Linked DNA regions of Homo sapiens: region 2 is linked to region 1. Evidence: promoter capture Hi-C in human tissues and cell types (Jung and others, 2019). All regions are on one chromosome and are shown on one strand. Each heading gives the region's core, a stretch centred on a gene start or on the middle of the fragment in contact. The rest is flanking DNA. Distances are from core to core; before and after follow the strand shown.

Region 1 (2,700 bases), core at 59-2,558:
TCAGGGCGGCGCTGGCTCCTCCCGGGCTCAGCAACACTGCCTCGGAGAAGAGCGCCCCCGGCAGGCCCCCGCCGCCGCCCCCGCAGTGATCCGCCAGGCGCAGGGTCTCGGTGAGTGCCCAGATGTAGTTGTGGGCGAAGCGCAGGGTCTCGATCTTGGTGAGCTTGGCGTCCTCGGGGAACGTGGGGAGCACCTCGCGCAGCGCGTCCAGTGCCGCGTTGAGGTTGTGCATGCGGTTTCGCTCGCGGTTGTTGGCCTTCAGTCTACGGGTCTTCTTGATGCGCTGCACCGTCTCGGCCGTCTTGGCGCCTCGGGAGACGGCCCGCGCCCGGGAAGGGCGCCGTTTGCAATCGTGTACCAGACCCAGCAGCCGTGCGGGCCGGCAGCCCTCCGCACCCGCAGCCACGCCGCCCCGCGCCCCCTGCCCGGCCTCAGCCCCGCGCTGCCGACGCGCCCCGCCTGACGCGCCCGGCTCCTCCTCCTCTTCTTCGTCGGCGCTGGATGACAGCGGGGTCAGGGCCGCCAAGGCGGGGGAGGCCGATCCGAGCAGCACTAACACGTCCTCTTCCTCCTTCAACTCCAAGGTCTCGGATTTGACGAACATCCTACCGAAGAGAGAAAGGGGAAAAAGGCAGTGAGGTGTAAGGAAAGAAACAGAGGCGCGATCTTCGTGTCACAGGGGCGTGCTCCGGCGCGCACCCGAGAAGACCAGCTCCGAATGGCGCGGAGCAGGAAGGCGAAGGAAGAAACCCAGGCAGTGCTAACCAAGGTCAGGAGCGCCGCTAGCGCTCGCTGTGACCCTGCTGCCAGTCAGCCGGGTCCTGCCCTCCGCGGGCGGTCCTGCGTTCCCTCCCCGAGAAGGGACTGCGGCCTCCGCGACAAAGATTCTGCGCGGAGCAGAGGGCGTGCGGGTGTGGTTGGACTGAGTGCGGGGAAACCACCTGCGTAGTTGGAAGCGGTGGCTCGAATACTTACTTAGTTGGCTCTAACTGTGCCTCAGCGTTGCTGTGACTTTGGCCTGTGCCGGGAATCTCCGCGCAGCTGCGAGCGCAGCGCCGGGTCCTTCGCCCGGCGTGAAAGCTGCAAGCCCGGCGCTACTGTGGCGCAGCTCCGCGGGGGACCTCTGCGACCGGCGAGTTTGCCAAGAGCCCCGGCGGCGGCGGCGGCGGCCCGCCCGGGTCTCGTGTGTTGTGGTGGTGGTGCGTGTCTGTCTGTCAGTCAGTCCCTGGCCGTGCGGCTCCTGGCACGCGACTCCCAGGCACTCCAGTTAACGCGAAGCTGCTTGTGGTTCAGTGGCTGCGTGTCTGGCACACGACTCTCCTTAAAACCCCTTATATACCACCAAGAAAACAATCAGATCTGCCCCGGGCCCCCTCCTCCCCCGCCACCGCCTCCTCCTCCTGTCAGTCCTGCCCCCCTTCTCCCCCGCTTTTCCCTCCTCTGGCTTATTCTTTTCATTGCATTATCATCATTCATTTCTTCCTCTTTCTTCACCGCCTTTCCCCCTCCCTTGGCCCTGCCATCCATCCTCCTCCTCCCACCACCCCCGCCTCTCTTTTCCCCCTTTATCTAATCAACATAAAATGGTTCTAAAGCTCCTGTTGGAGCTCCGGGCTGCGGCCGGAGCTGGCGAAGCCGCAGCGGCCGCAGAGGCTCAAGCTGCGGCTGTTGTCGCCGCCGCTGTCCATTGTGATTGGTGGCTCGCGCTCGGCTGGAGCGTGCCGCTAATTTATTAATGAATGGAGGTCGCGAGGCGCAGCTGGCCAATCAGGGCGCCCTGGACTCCGGGAGGCCTGCGAGCCACGCGCACCGGAGCCCGCTCCCTTTCAGCAGCTCATTAGGGGCCCGAGCGCTGGGGGCGGATGGGGGGACCCGTGCTACCGCCCCCGCCTTCGTCCTCGCTGCCGCCGAGGCTCCCCCCGCCCGGCGCGCGCGCAGGCACCGCACCCGGCGCTGCCGGCCCTCCTAACTCCCGGGTGATGGGAACTAGGAATTAGTTAATGGGGGTCAGAATCCCGGGGAAAGCAGTTAGCCCTGTGGTGCTGCCGGGCGTCTCTTGGCAAAGCCTCTTAGGGGTTGTATCAAATAGTAAACGATTTTAAAATGGATTCATTTGGTTAGGGGAGGAGAATGGCGTGGATGGAGAGATGTGGACACCTCGTGAACAAGTGTGTTTGGGGTCCGTCGAAACTGGCGTGGGAGAGTGAAGGGAGAGGACACTGGGGATTCAAACAGGCGTCTCTTGGGAGGGGAGGTCGGATAGGGGAGCAGTTGATGAGCTTTTAGAGGATGTGAGAATGAAATCACTCACATGTTAGAGCTGAAAGGATCCCCCTCATTTTACATACAGGAAACTGAGGCTCCGGGCACTGATGCAGGTTTTGCTGGGGTTAACCCAGTTTATAGCCTGGAGGGACAGCAAGGAGGCTTCCTGCGTGGGTGGCAGCGAACCGAGCGGGAGGAGCGGCAGAGCTGCTGCTCCTGCAAGCAAATGCGCTGCGCTGACATTTCTGTGACCTCTGCTCCGCGCTGGGGGGCGTTGTAGGGACAAGGGGCCCATCTTCCCAATTCTGCTTTTCAATGAGAAAAAAGAGCTGAAGGGCTACTGGACCTCGGGGGAAACTTGTTCTCAATTGCTCGTTAGCCCTCCCCACTTTCCCCACGTTCATGCCCACCCTCTTGTCGACATGGGGATGGATC
Region 2 (2,700 bases), core at 167-2,666, 400 kb after region 1:
AAATTCTGCAGACGGATAAAAAGGAACTTTCAACACCCAGCTTATTTTTTTGGCAGAGATTCAATGCACTGGGAATTGTCCAGCAAAATGGGTTGCACTTGGCAGATCTGCAAATATGCATATTTCTGCTCAGTACCATCAGGCAAACATAGAGACTTCCAGAGGAACTAATTATCTTTTGTCTTTTTTACCTTAGAAAGAGGATAATATTTGGAAGACAACTATTAAGAGATTTTAGAGGCAATGTTTAAAAAAATGTTGAAAGAGAATTCTATATTTAGCCTTCTTTTAAAAAGTTTTTAATACCCATTTGTGCTCCCAAAATAATTTATCATAATTGGCAGAAGCTCAAACCATTTGGTTTATAATTTGAAGACTTTTGTTTATTATTTGCCTTTTTTTTTTTTTTTTTTTTAGATGGAGTCTCGCTCTGTCGACAGGCTGGAGTGCAGTGGCACGATCTCAGCTCACTGCAACGTCCGACTCCCGGGTTCAAGCAATTCTCCTGCCTCAGCCTCCCGAGTAGCTGGGATTCCAGGCATGAGCCACCATGCCCAGCTAATTTTTGTATTTTTAGTAGAGACTTTAGTAGAGACGGGGTTTCACCATGTTGGCCAAGATGGTGCTTTTTTTTTTTTTTTTTTTTTAGAGATGGTATATCTCGGCTGGGCGCAGTGGCTCATGCCTGTAATCTCAACACTTTGGGAGGCCGAGGCGGGCGGATCACGAGGTCAGGAGATATAGTTAACTAATCTAGTTAGCCATCCTGGCTAACACGGTGAAACCCCGTCTCTACTAAAAATACAAAAAATTAGCCGGGCGTGGTGGTTGGCACCTGTACTTCCTCATACTCCGGAGGCTGAGGCAGGAGAATGGCGTGAACCTGGGAGGCGGAGCGTGCAGTGAGCGGAGATCGAACCACTGCACTCCAGCCTGGGCAACAGAGCGATATATCTCACTATGTTGCCCAAGCTGGACTTGAACTCTTGGGCTCAAGAGATCCTCCCACTTCAGCCTGTTGAATAGCTGGGACTATGGGTGCGTGCCCACACCTGGCTGCCATTATCAATATATTTTTAAACAAACTCTGTTGCTATGTTTTTCCTTATTATGTTGTCATTGACACTAGAGAGAAGCTAAAGTTGCTCTATATATTTTGTCAGGTCATTGAGATAAAAAAAGAAAAAAGCTATCTACATCAGATATTTAGAGAATATTTGAGTTAGCTAGAAAAATAGTTTAAGTTTTTAAAGTGAGTTAGCTAAAAATACATCTGTTTAATTGATTATTGTGTTAATAATTATGTCTTCTTTGTTGTTAAGAAACTGATGTGGGCCAGGCGTGGTGGCTCACGCCTGTAATCCCAGCACTTTGGGAGGCTGAGGCAGGTGGATCACGAGGTCAGGAGATCGAGACCATCCTGGCTAACACAGTGAAACCCCGTCTCTACTAAAAATACAAAAAATTAGCCGAACGTGGTGGCGGGCGCCTGTAGTCCCAGCTACTCGGGAGGCTGAGGCAGGAGAATGGTGTGGACCCCGGAGGTGGAGTTTGCAGTGAGCCAAGATCGTGCCACTGCACTCCAGCCTGGGTGACAGAGCGAGACTCCGTTTCAAAAAAAAAAAAAAAGAAACTGATGTGGCACTTTAGGGACGGCAAGTGCAGTTCAAAACAAATTTTCCACTTTCTGATGAATATTTTTTAAGTGACAACAATTGGAAAAAGAGAAGGAACCGGTTATGTGAGCCAGTTGTTTCCAAACATACTTATTTTCTATGAAAAGATGACCAAACCCTGATACCCTGATAAAACATATTACTTTAGAAGCCATTTATTCCTACTTAAAAGTTCCCAAGCAAAATTTCACTCGTGTAATATTGAATTTAAGAAAATTAATCTAGTTGCCATTTTTTGAGTGGGGTAAGGGGTGGTGTATATTATGATTTTCCTATCCCTCCCATTTTCTTATCTTTTAAGTGGGGAATCCCAAAGTAAAAATATATATTCCTAGAAAAGTAACCTGGAAAATATCACACAATTATGAGAGCTTAATAGAGGATAGCCCACACTATGGTTTCTAGAAGACCAAATTTGTGAGCAGCCTAATTTATTTTGATATTATTAGGAAGAAGTCAGCCATGTGACCAGAGTGAAGTAGAGATATGTATATGTAAATTAAATAATTTTTAGGTTCTAGTCCCAGTTACTTGGGAGGCTGAGGTGGGAGGATAGCTAGAGCCCAGGAGTTCAAGTCCAGCCTGGGCAACATAGTGAGACCATGTCTTTAAAATAAATAAATAAATAAATATTAAAAAATAATTTTCAGATTCTAGAAATGACTACATCTAGGAAGACATGATGTAATGAATGTTGATGGGGGTGGTGTGGGGTAGGGGAAGCACTAGACTGAAAATCTGCTGAAGTCTCTAAGGTTTTTTCCAAATTTATAATTTTATGTTATAATATGTAGATGATTGGAACAAAGTGCACTACATAGGCTCGGGATGCCTATGTAACCGTAAAAAAACTCATATTAGCTCCAGTGGTAGAGTACAGAGTTCTTCATATCTATTGTTGCTAGGATCAATCCCATTCTAACCATCCAAATTATTTGATAATAGCATAGTGCTATATTAAATATTACTTGAATATTAAAATTTATGTAAATGGCCAGTAATGGATACTTAATTACCTTTCTGT

The links. Contacts are between HindIII fragments. The study calls those that stand out against the background at their distance.
Region 2: a fragment that was not itself captured here is called in contact with the fragment with the promoter of NEUROG2 in region 1 in 1 of the 25 tissues and cell types used here (thymus).

What each region holds. Positions count from the first base shown.
Region 1 is chr4:112,514,872-112,517,571 of GRCh38, forward strand. It overlaps NEUROG2 (neurogenin 2), which reads right to left and starts at 1,309. Exons shown (of 2, transcript NM_024019.4): 1 at 976-1,309; 2 at 1-605. The coding sequence starts at 604. It overlaps NEUROG2-AS1 (NEUROG2 and ZGRF1 antisense RNA 1), which reads left to right and starts at 508. Exons shown (of 4, transcript NR_161159.1): 1 at 508-769. LOC124900760 (a long non-coding RNA gene) reads left to right here and starts at 1,934. Exons shown (of 2, transcript XR_007058231.1): 1 at 1,934-2,168. RefSeq lists silencers at 1-140, 401-470, 1,791-2,070 and enhancers at 2,080-2,700, 2,211-2,310, 2,411-2,530. The HindIII fragment of the contact is 15,153 bases long and covers 1-2,700 here.
Region 2 is chr4:112,910,563-112,913,262 of GRCh38, forward strand. It overlaps a transcript of ANK2 not described here. Among named protein-coding and RNA genes, the nearest start is that of ANK2-AS1, 130 kb to the right of the region's middle. The HindIII fragment of the contact is 4,274 bases long and covers 1-2,700 here.